Linked DNA regions of Homo sapiens: region 1 is linked to region 2. The links are contacts of gene promoters, found by promoter capture Hi-C in human tissues and cell types (Jung and others, 2019). All regions are on one chromosome and are shown on one strand. Each heading gives the region's core, a stretch centred on a gene start or on the middle of the fragment in contact. The rest is flanking DNA. Distances are from core to core; before and after follow the strand shown.

What was found. Contacts are between HindIII fragments. The study calls those that stand out against the background at their distance.
Region 1: a fragment that was not itself captured here is called in contact with the fragment with the promoter of ZNF713 in region 2 in 1 of the 25 tissues and cell types used here (pancreas).

The regions. Positions count from the first base shown.
Region 1 is chr7:55,555,217-55,561,642 of GRCh38, forward strand. All of the region lies in intron 1 of VOPP1 (VOPP1 WW domain binding protein), which reads right to left. Among named protein-coding and RNA genes, the nearest start is that of VOPP1, 14 kb to the right of the region's middle. RefSeq lists an enhancer at 1-561. The HindIII fragment of the contact is 4,785 bases long and covers 597-5,381 here.
Region 2 is chr7:55,886,041-55,891,768 of GRCh38, forward strand. It overlaps ZNF713 (zinc finger protein 713), which reads left to right and starts at 1,416. Exons shown (of 7, transcript NM_182633.3): 1 at 1,416-1,640. RefSeq lists an enhancer at 1,107-1,446 and a silencer at 1,567-1,616. The HindIII fragment of the contact is 16,372 bases long and covers 1-5,728 here.

The DNA of each region.
Region 1 (6,426 bases), core at 1,739-4,238, 330 kb before region 2:
GACCAAAGCCTGAAGGGGGAAGCGACAGGAGAGGGAGGGTGCTCTGCATGGACAGCTTGCCCTCCCGACCACCCCCCAGCTCAATCGCTGGCCCCAGGGAAGCAGACTGCATGACAATCGCTCACTTTCAGCACTACCATTTCCGCACATGTGAAAGCTGGAAAGAACAACTACTGCCTCTTTTCACCGCACAGATGACCTTTGCTAAATCCCTTAACTTCTCAACCTCACTTTGTGAATCTGTAAAATGAGCGGCAACATGTAGCTTCCAGGGCTACCATGAGGGACACAGTGGGGGTAACCACTAGGACACTGCCCAGCACCTTTTAGGTGCCAGATAAGATCCAGCTCTTAGTGGTCATGCCATTTGGGTCCAGGGTATTGTTCTAAGCAGCCCTTCTCCTTTTCCTAAGTATCAAGAGCTCCTCAGGCATGGGCTCCTCTTCATTTCGCTAGTGCATACCTCATTATTATTGAAAACGGTAGTAGTCATCAATTACCACTGACACAGCAGGAGGCTCTGCTGGGAACATAATTCTTTATGAGAATTTTGAAACAATAAACTAAATTTTGCTCACATAGTTCCTGCTTACAAAAACCTTTCGGGGACTGCAGTATCATAGAGACTGCTTATGCTGGACTCCCTTCAGTGAGCTCTGCTGATGAACACAGCACAAAGCAAATAAATATAAACGAATGAATAACCCCAATAGCCATCAGCAAAACTCACTTGTTTTCTTTTCCATGTGTTCTAAGATGTTTCCCCGTAGATTTCGCCTCTCTAATAACCTGTATATGATAATGAGAACATGGGTATGTGCTGGAAGCCCCTCTGCTGCTTACCTATGAGGGGCCCCAAGCACTCAATGTATGAAACAGAAAGCTGCTGCACTCACCTAGTGTCCCTAAGGGCAGCCTCTGCTCTCTCCCAGCCACCTGCTGAGCTTCCTCTGAGACCTTCTGAGCCCAGCCTGCCACAAAGGACTGGGTGAGTGCAGGCTACCTAGCAAGGCAGGAGGAGGTGGGAGAGACAGGGGTTCAGCCCAGCAGGACAATGACCCTGACTCATTCCACCAGGTCTCAAGGCCACAGTGAGCCTTGCCAGTTCCTTTCTAAGCCATCCTCCAGTTCGCAAACCTGTTCATCCACTTCTGGATTCCATGAGCCAAAATTCTCATCTTCCAAATTTCCACATTCTATTTATAATAAAGACACATTACTTAGGATAACATGATGGAGTTTCTCAGTCTCTTAATAACCAAAATGCATAACGTGAACCAGCAACAGGAACTCCCTCCACGACAGGCCATGATGGAACCTCAAAGAGAAAAATGCTATGATTATATAAACTTCACACATTGGGGCTTTAAGAACATACTCTGAAGTCTGTGAAAACAAATAAACCTAAAAGCTGTTGGAACCCCCCCCCAAAACACTTCAAGCTTTGAGAGAAATGTGACTGTGATCTGAGTCACATATGGTTACAATTTATGTTTCTCAGATTATAGATAACTCATTTTCTTCTTTTTCTTGCTCTGTACATTGACTAAAGGGAAACCATGTCAGGGTCAAAAGCCTCCCGCCCTCTGAATTAATGACCCTTGTTGTAGATTAACTCCCCCTTCATTGCCCTGCTTCGCTTAGACCAGGTGAAAGAAAACCCAGGACTATTACACCCTCTGTTAAGAAAATGTTAAATATCCCCTCCCCAAAAAGAAACATCACCTAGAGCCAATCAAATTGCTATAACATACACACCAACCTTGTATGAATAATGTTGTAATCCTGCTAAAAACTCCACTGTCTCAGCCCACATAAATGAAGCCTTCACTTCCTACTTCGGAAAACTGACTCCATTTCTTCGGAGTTGGTGTTTCTGGGTGGCCTACCTCACACTTTGTACTTATTTAAATGCTCTTTAAATCATATTCTGACCCCTTTCATTATTTTAGGTTGGCAAGTCAATCTGCTGAGGTTTGAATGCTAGGTCCGACTGCAGAAAATCTTGAGAAAGCCCCAGTCTCCTGAGCCACAGTCCACTCATCTGCAAAATGGACAGGAGGGCAGCACGGAGCCTGGGGCAGGGGTGGGAAGGCTGCACAGATGAAACACCATGTGCTTACTTAAAACAATGCTGCCACACAACAAGCACCTGCTAAGTGCTGGTTATCACATTGCCACCATCATCTGGAGAAATAAAATAAGGTTGGAAAGTTTTAAAAAAATACTCAAACATAAGATGTTTCAAAAAAAAAAAAAGGACTTAAAAAAACCCCATATGCTAGCAAGAAGGCTCTTATGTCTGTTTATATTTCAATCGTTGGCTTGACTTCCAATCTGAAAATTCCGATTCTTCAGGACCCATCTAACACCAACCCCACCCAAAATGAGTGCCCCATTAGAAAATACTGGAATATTGTGGGGATGGGAAAAGGAAGGGGCCAAGTAACTCTGCCCAGCCACAACAGAACAAAACACATACATAAGAAAGACATGCTGGATGCTGACTGATTTGCATTTTGTAAGGAGCTGCTGCAACCTACACACAACCACAAGGGCAGGACCGTCCGCAGAGAATGGCAGAATGGAAGGTGGAGCAAATGAGAGGGTGTGTAGAGCCTCTGAACAACTCAGGCCCGGGGCCTCCAACAGGAGGACTCCTAACCATGCCAGATAATGAACTTCCTCCAAGTCTGCACTACTTGAATTGGGTTTCCTATCACTGAGGGCCAAAGACGTTCTAATCAATATGCGGTTTAGTAAGTACTCTGTGGGGCATTGCAAGTACAGACAGACAAGAAAACCCTTCAACAGAGGGTGGAATGGCGTTGCGTGGGGTTGGGAGGAGGGGAAATTAGGTATTTGTCAAAAAGTACAAAGTTTCAGTTATGCAAATCAGTGAGTCCTAGAGGGCTGCTGTGCCACAGAGGTCCTGCAGTTAACACTACTCTACTGTGTACTTAGAAATCTGCTAAGGGGTAGACCTTATGACACACAATAATAATAATAATAATAACCAGACAGCAGGAGGAAACTTTTAGAGGCTTATGGCATAAATTGTGGAGGTGGTTTCATAGGTGCATGCTTATCTCCAAACTCATCAAGCTGTATACATTAATTATGTTCAGCTTGTTGTATGTCAAAAAAAATTAAATACAAAAGAATGAATTTTAAGAAAAAGAATATCCTTCATATTTTTAATATGTTCCTTAAACTTCCATCAGACAACTAAATGAAAACTCATACAAATAATGTGTTTCTCACCTGCTAACCTGTTCAGGTGTGCACACCTGCAGGGGTGACAGATGATGCTTTAATCGGGGAGAGGACCCTGCCACCCCAGAGACACCCTGCTAATGCCAATTCCAATCATCTCTGCTCAGCCTCCAGAGAGCCCAGGCATCCCTGTCCAGAGGCTACTGTGCTGTGTCAGGTGCTGTAAAGTCTCTTCACTTCCCAGATCCACCCACCCATCCATCCATGTCCAACCCCAGGCTCCTTGCAGACAAAGACCCAAAAGACAGAGTAAAAACTTCAGACTACATACAGCCTCAAACACAGCATGGCTACAGGGTGAACACCAAACCCTGGCATCATTATCATTAGTAAAGCTGACTGACAAAGAGCTATTTTAGTGTTCTGAGCCCTCTTCAGCAATAATAACGCAGAGTTGCTAAAAACCAAAGAAGAAAGCAAAGGAAAGGTCAGTGTTCAAGGTTAGCGACAAGATAGCCTCACTGAAAAGTTTAATACCATCCTGCATTTCCTTCTGAAGACCTAATTATATTAATTTTATTTGTGCCCAAAGCTTTGCAAACAACTTGAGCTATATATAAGTCACTAAGTATCCAGTGGATAGTAACGGTTTTTTAGTCTGCTCCCTCATCATCAGAGGGAGCCTCTGATGGCTTCAATGGGAGCCTGAGCCATCCATCAAAACAAGAACCATACACACAACTGAATTCAGATAAACAGGGTGGAGTTTAAAAAGGTACTGATTCTAGTGGTGACAATCATCACTAAATAAATCCACTTCCACTCTTGGCAGCTTCTCTGAATACATCACTAGGTCATGCTGACACTCAGAAAGGGACCAGAGACTCCTAATTAGGATGCCTACCCTTCCCATCTTATGGAGGAAGGTGAGCACTGCCCATTAGCAAGCCCCTGAGAGCAGCCGCTGACCGTGCCATTGGGCCGACCAACAGGCCACCACAGTGGAAGGACTCTAATGCCTGGCTCAGCTGACCAGGGCCCAGATGTCGTGATTTTGAAGTCCAGCTCCTTTTCTGCCAGGAAGTGATAAAAGCATCAATTGTATCAAGTAACCTGTGATCTCAATTTGTCCAAGGCTCTCATTATGAGAGAAAGCCTTCTCCCTATCTGCGATTTAACTTCTCATGCAATTCAGAAAGTCAGAGATGAATCTCAGCTTCCACTGGGGTGACTAGCTATTAATAAAACCAATACATATTTTTCCTGAGTCATTCCACCAAGAACTCAAAGCATAAAACAGACCTACAACCTATGTTAATGACTCCATCCCAACCCAGGGCACATGCAGTGGAACCGGCAAGTTCTCATTCACTCCACTGCCCATGTCAGCCCCACAGAAGAACCTCAGAACGTGGCAATGGAGTATAAAAACCTTTACTGGCCAGGCGCAGTGTCTCATGCCTGTAATCCCAGCACCGCACGAGGCCGTGGCAGGCGATCACCTGAGGTCAGGAGTTCCAGACCAGCCTGGCCAACATGGTGAAACCCCATCTCCACTAAAAATACAAAAATTAGCTGGGGATGGTGGCGCACGCCTGTAGTCCCCGCTACTTGGGAGGCTGAGGCGGGAGAATCACTTGAACCTGGGAGGCAGAGGTTGTAGTGAGCCAAGATCATGCCACTGCACTCCGGCCTGGGGAAAAGAGTGAGGCTCTGTCTCAAACAACAAACGAAAACAAAAAAAACCTTTACAACAGTGATTTCACTAAAATATCCATTTTAAGCAACATTTTTTTTCAACCTTGTGGCAAGCAAAGTAATGCCACCTCCTGCCCACAAAGATGTCATCGTCCTAATCCACAGAACTGGGAATGTCACCTTAGGTGGCAAAAGGGGCTTTGCAGACGTGATTAAGTTAAGGATCTTACAATGAGGAGATTATGCTGGGTAATTCAGGTGGGCCCAATGTAATCTCAAGGGTCTTTACAGTGACAGAGAGAGAGAAGCATGAGAGAAATTAGAAGACACAGAATCGCTGGCTTTGAAGGGGAGGAAGGGACCACCAGCCAAGAAACACAGGCAGTCCCTAGATGCTGGGACAGGCCAGGAAATGAATCCTCCCTGGAGCCTCCAGAAGAAACATGGTCCTGCTGACATTCTTGAATTGAGCCCACTGAGAGCCATTTAGGACTTCTGACCTCCAGAGAGGGAAGATAATAAATCTGGATCGGTTTAAGCCACCAAGTTTGTAGTCACTTGTTATAGCAACAACAGGTAATGAACACAGAGGTCACAGCAAGTTCTTCTCTAGTAGGCCAGTAGCCTCACTCTCCCTTCTCTGCACCTGTCCCATACCCTCACCTCACTCCCATGTCAACCTCTACTTTTTTACCAAATGCCTTGTTCATTTTCCAATCCATCAACCATCTTCTAATTTTACACACTCAAGAAATGACCCTAACATAGCCATCATAACAATAATTCCCCAAAATCCTCTCACTCATGATGCACTGCCATCCCGCGTCAATCCCCAGTCTGGCAGCCACCCTTCTACCTCCCTGCTTCCATGCTGCTTAGGGGGCCAGTCAGGGCAGCTGGCTGTATCCAAGACTGCCCGAAATGCTCACTCTGCACCCCGACCATGGATGCTCTGAGATGCACATGCACAGCTTCCCAGGACCCTCACCACAACCGCTGTGCGACCTTCACCATGACCTGGAGGCCCAGGTCCTTCCCAGCTTATCTCTGTGGCTTACTTCAACGCAAAGTTCCTGACATCCCACCCAGGTCACCAACCTTTCCCCACTGAACTTCAACTCTATGTGCACCTTCCCTCTTGATGACCTCCTTCCTCATCTCCTTCCTCACATCCCCACTCCCCTTCCAAAGCCTAACCTCTACACCCAAGCTCCCAAGCCCATCCCCCTCACTGTGCCAAACCCTTCTGGAACAAACAGGTCCTCTAGGAGCTTAAGGTCTAAAGAATTTACAGACCAGGCCGGGCACGGTGACTCATACCTGTAGTCCCAGCTCTCTGGGAGGCCAAGGCGGGCAGATCACAAGGTTAGGAGTTCAAGACCAGCCTAGCCAATATGGTGAAACCCCGTCTCTACTAAAAATACAAAAATTAAGTGGGCGTGCTGGTGGGCACCTTATGTCCAGCTACTCAGGAGGCCAAGGCAGGAGAGGGGGAGGCGGAGGTTGCAGTGA
Region 2 (5,728 bases), core at 166-2,665:
TGAAGAACACTAACTCTGGGGCCTAGCACAGTGCTGATGCCTGTAATCCCAGCACCTTGGGGGGCCTGAGGAGTAAGAATCCCTTGAGCCCAGGAGTTCAAGACCAGCCTGGACAACATAGTGAGATCCCCATCTCTACAAAAAAGTTTTAAAAATTAGCAGGGCGCAGTGGCTCAGGGCTGCTGTAATCCTGGCTACTGGGGAGGCTGAGGCGGGAGGATGCTTGAGCCCAGGAGTTTGAAGCTGCACTGAGCCATGATGGCACCATTGCCCTCCAGCCTGGGTGACAGAACAAGGCCCTGTCTGAAAAACAAAACAAAATAAAACAAAAAAAACTAACTAACTCCGAACTCCAATTAAGCAAAATGTTACGCCTAAAAAAATTCCATTCTTTGGCCAGGCGCGATGGCTGAAGCCTGTAAACCCAGCACTTTGGGAGGCCGAGGCAGGGGGATCACGAGGTCAGGAGATCAAGACCATCCTGGCTAACACGGTGAAACCCCATCTCTACTAAAAATAAAAATAAAAAAAAAATTAGCTGGGCGTGGTGGTGGCCGCCTGTAGTCCCAGCTACTTGGGAGGCTGAGGCAGGAGAATGGCATGAACCCGGGAGGCGGAGCTTGCAGTAAGCGGAGATCTCACCACTGCACTCCAGCCTGGGCCACAGAGCAAGACTCCGTCTCAAAAAATAAATAAATAAATAAATAAAATAAAATTCCATTCTTCGCATCAGTAGCATATACTATATAATGATATAATGATATCATTATTGTATTTTTTTTTGAGATGGAGTCTTACTCTGCTGCCCAGGCTGGAGTGCAATGATGTGATCTCTGCTCACTGCAACCTCCCCGTCCCGAATTTAAGCGATTCTCCTGCCTCAGCCTCCGGAATAGCTGGGATTACAGGCGCCCGTCACCACGCCCAGCTAATATTTGTACGTTTATTAGAGACGGGGGTTTCACCATATTGGCCAGGCTGGTCTCGAACTCCTGACCTCAGGTGATCCACCAGCCTCAAGCTCCCAAAGTGCTGGGATTACACGCGTGAGCCACCGCGCCCGGCCAATAACATCATCATCATTATATTTTGAGTTTCATCAATATGAAATTGATGGGAAGGAGGGGTGATTCCAGGACTGAAAGGAAGGCTTGTGTCGTCACCATGGAGATGGACAGTCCAACGCTTCTAATTGGCAGGGACGAAGGGACGGGTCCTCGGCCCGTCCCCCTCGTTCCTCTAGGACCGGAAAATTCTGGGAAGGCTCGAGGCCGCGGTCCCCGGGGTCCGCATAGTCCCGATGAAAAACAGACCCGGGAAAGCTGGTGGGAGTCAGGAGCCCCGGCGATGAGGATTGCGATGAAGGAAGCAGGCTCGGAGCGCCGCCAGCGCATGCGTATTGGGGATCTGAGGCCAGCGTCTTGCGCCGCCATTGCGGGGAGGCTGTCCTCAGAGCAGGTCTGGCGCGCCGGTGGCTGGACCGGCCCCAGGAGCCCAGTCACCGGGCGTCATTGGCTCAGGCTGCGGGGCCCTCGGCACCTTCTCCCTCCCGGGTCCACCGCGGCGGCGGCGGCGGCGGCGGCGGCGGCGGCGGCGGCGTCAGGGGGCGGAGCCTGCCGAAGCGCCCTTTGTCTGCGGAGGTGAGTGCGCGCCGGGAGGAGGCGGAGGCGGGAGGCGGAGGCGGGGGGCGGAGGCGGGGGGCGGAGGCGGGGGGCGGAGGCGGGGGGCGGAGGCGGGGGGCGGAGGCGGGGGGCGGAGGCGGGGGGCGGCGGGCGGCGGGCGGCGGGCGGCGGGCGGCGGGCGGCGGCGGCGGCGGGCGGCGGGCGGCGGCGGCGGCGGCGGCGGCGGGCGGCGGCGGCGGCGGGAGGCGGCAGGTGGCGGGAGGGGCGGCCGCTGTCCCCGCTGTCCCCATTCCTGTCACCCGCCCCGTGTCCCTTTCAGATTTTTGGTCTTTTATAGGAAGGTCTTACCCGTTCCAATATTATAAACACATTGTCTTCTACTATCTGGGAATGACTCTGAGGCTGAAGAAAAACTTGCAGTTTATTTTTGGGCAAGCGTCCATAGGTGTCATTTTGGGGGAAAGTTTTTCCTCATCTCAGGATTATGCAAACGTTCGGCTTTATTTTCTTATAATACGTTTAAAGAATTTTTAAAATATTTTCTTTTTCTCCTTTTTATCTGTATTTCATTGAGTATGATATTTGTGGTAAGGGGTTAGGTAGAGATTACCTTTTTCTCTCATTGCCTTGCTGTTATCCGTTGAGTCACTTTTCCACGGAATTGCAGTGACACTTTTATTACATTTTGCAGGCGTGTGTATGCTCAGATGTGTTTCTGTTTATTTATGTTTTTGTTTTGAGACAGGATCTCACTTTATCACCCAGGCTGCAGTGCAGTGGCACCATCATGGCACACTGCAGCCTCAAACGCCTGGGCTCAAGAGCTCCTCCTTCCTCAGCCTCCTCAGTAGCTGGGACCACAGGTGTGCACCACCACGTGCGGCTTTTTGTTGTTGTTGTTGTTGTTAGCGACCAGGTCTCACCATGTTTCCCAGGCTGGTCTCTGAGCGCAAGTGATCCTCCCGCCTTGGCCTCTCAAAGTGCTGGGATTACAGGCATGAGCCACGGCGTTCGGCCAGCTGTTTCTAGATTCTGTCACTGCCCTGACAGTTTCTGCACTGAATACATATACGTACATACATACATAGATTTTTTTCATTTAAAATGTTTAGGCCGGTTGCGGTCCTGTAATCGCAGCACTTTGGGAGGCAGAGGCAGGAGGATCACTTGAGCTCATGAGTTCGAGACCAGCCTGGGAAACATGGCAAGACCCTGTTGCTACAAAAAAAACTAGAAAAATTAACCGGACTTGGTGGTGTGTGCCTGTAGTCCCCAGCCACTCAGGAGGCTGAGGTGGGAAGATGGCTTTGGCCCAGGAGATGAAGGTTGCAGTGAGCCAGTCACTGCACTCCAGCCTGGGCGACAGAATCAGACCTTGTCTCAAAAAATAAAATAAATGTTTTAAGCAAATCCCCCTTAATTGTGTCCTTTCATATAATGATTTTTTTTTTTTTTTGAGATGGAGTTTCGCTCCTGTTGCCCAGGCTGGAGTGCAATGGTGTGATCTCCGCTCACCGCAACCTCTGCCTCCTGGGTTCAAATGATTCTCCTGTCTCAGCTTCCCGATTAGCTGGGATTACAGGCACATGCCACCACACCTGGCTCATTTTTGTATTTTTAGTAGAGACGGAGTTTCATCATATTGGTCAGGCTGATCTCAAACTCCTGACCTCAGGTGATCCGCCCACCTCGGCCTCCCAAGTGCTGGGATTACAGGCGTGAGCCACTGCGCCCGGCCTGATCTATTTCTTTTAACTTAAATTGTGAGGCATTTAAAAGATACAGAAAAGTTTAAAAAAAAATAATTTTTTAAAAGGCAGGTTGGAACACTTAGTAGGTTGTAGCAATTAGTACGTTCTAAATAGATAGTTATTCGGTGATGAATGTTGGTGGAAAGTCACTCTGTTGCTGAAAACTTGCGGCTCCCTGCCGCCATCAGGAAAATGTTCTAGTTCCTTAGTGATGCCCTCAAAGCCCTTTATGATCTTGATATTGCATCTGGCTTTGTCTTACACCCATGCACTTTTTTTTTACCCCCAAAAAAGCAGTTTAATTTGAGTGCAGATTTGTATGTGAATTTCATTAGAAAAGAGGACTATATAAATCTTATGAGTTATAGTTCTTGTAACACGTTGGTGTCATTTTCAACTGATTGGAAATGTCAGCTGTGAAGACCATGCTTTTAATTTTACCTTAGAGTATGCATCTTTGGTGACTGTCATAGCCTGCTCAGTCTGCTGTACAATACTGCAGACTGAGTGCAAACAACAGAAATGTGGTATCTCACAGTTCTAGAGGTGGGAAGTTCAAAATCAAAGTGCCTGCCCTGTTGGTTTCCAGTGAACCTCTCTTCCTGGCTTGCAGAAGGGACTGGCATCTCTCTGTGTCCTCTTCTGCTGGCCTTTGCACTGGGTGCATGCATTCCTGTGCCTCTTCTTCTTATGAGGACACTACTGCTATTGGATTAAGACCCCACCTTTATGACCTCATTTAACTTTAATTACAGGCCCGGCGCAGTGGCTCATGCCTGTAATCCCAGCACTTTGGAAGGCCGAGGCAGGTGGATCACCTGAGGTCAGGAGTTCAAGACCAACTTGGCCAACATGGTGAAACCCCATCTCTAGTAAAAATACAAAAATTAGCCGGGTGTGGTGGTGGGTGCCTGTAATCCCAGCAACTTGGGAAGCTGAGGCAGGAGAATTGCTTGAACCCGGGAGGCAGAGGTTTCAGTGAGCCGAGATCACGCCATTGCACTCCAGTCTGGGCAAGAGAGCGAGACTCTGTCTCCAAAAAAAAAAAAAAAAAATGACAACCTTTAAGGCCCTATTTCCAAATAAAGTCACATTGCGGGTTAGGACTTCAACATACTAATTTGTGGGTGTGGAATATAATTTAGTCCATAACAGTTACAACATCAAAATGAGTTGAAAATTCTAATCTGCTGTAAGATTAAAACTGCCTCAATTAAATCATTATTACAAGAAAAAATGTATCCCTTAAGAGAATTCTAAATAAAGATATAAGAAGAATTATCCTGGTATCACAGATACACAGGAGAATCAAATATTAAGGAGAGGCTGGACGTGGTGGCTTATGCCTGTAATCCCAGCACTTTGGGAGGCCGAGGTGGATGGATCATCTGAGGTCAGGAGTTTGAGACCAGCCTGGGCAACATGGTGAAACCCCATCTCCTAAAAATACAAATATTAGCTGGGCGTGGTGGCACGTGCCTGAGGTAGGAGAATTGTGCTTGAACCCAGGAGGTGGAGGTTGCAGTGAGCCTGGATTGTGCCACGGCACTCTAGCCTGGACGACAGAGTGAGACTCTGTCTCAAAAAAAAAAAAAAGAAAAAAAAATTAAGGAGTGTGCCTACTCCCACACATGCTTGGAACAATTCCTAGCATAGATTAAGGTTTTAAACTATTAAGTTTTGAATGAACACTAAATGAAAAAGTTACTATTTGATTAGTTCATCAGCAAATAAATGTGGACAATTAGAAGTTTATATACAGGAACTAAGAAATAATTCAGTTTCAACATTCTAATATAAATATGAACGAAATTAAAGCTCAGTCTAAATACCTTTCCAAAGTCACATGGTTATTTAATAGAAGAATTGTGTCTCCATTTACGCCTGCAAAATGTAATTTTTATTTCACCCACACTAGTTCATGATATATAATGGTTTGCAGGAACAAAAGTATAATGTGACTTGCAAGGCAAAGTATGAAAATAGAAATCAGGAGAGAAAAGATTAAGAGAAATGATGTCCACTTATTTAATAGAAAAAAAATTAAATCATAGAAATTGTGTCTAGACCAGCCTGGGAAACATGGTGAGACCTGGTCGCTAATAACAACAACAACAACAACAACAACAAAAAGCCACACGTGGTGGTGCGCACCTGTGGTCCCAGCTACTGGGAAGGCTGAGGAAGGAGGAGCTCTTGAGCCCAGGCGTTTGAGGCTGCAGTGTGCCATGATGGTGCCACTGCACTGCAGCCTGGGTGATAAAGTGAGATCCTGTCTCAAAACAAAAACATAAATAAACAGAAACACATCTGAGTATATAAACGCCTGCAAAATGTAATTTTTATTTCACCCAC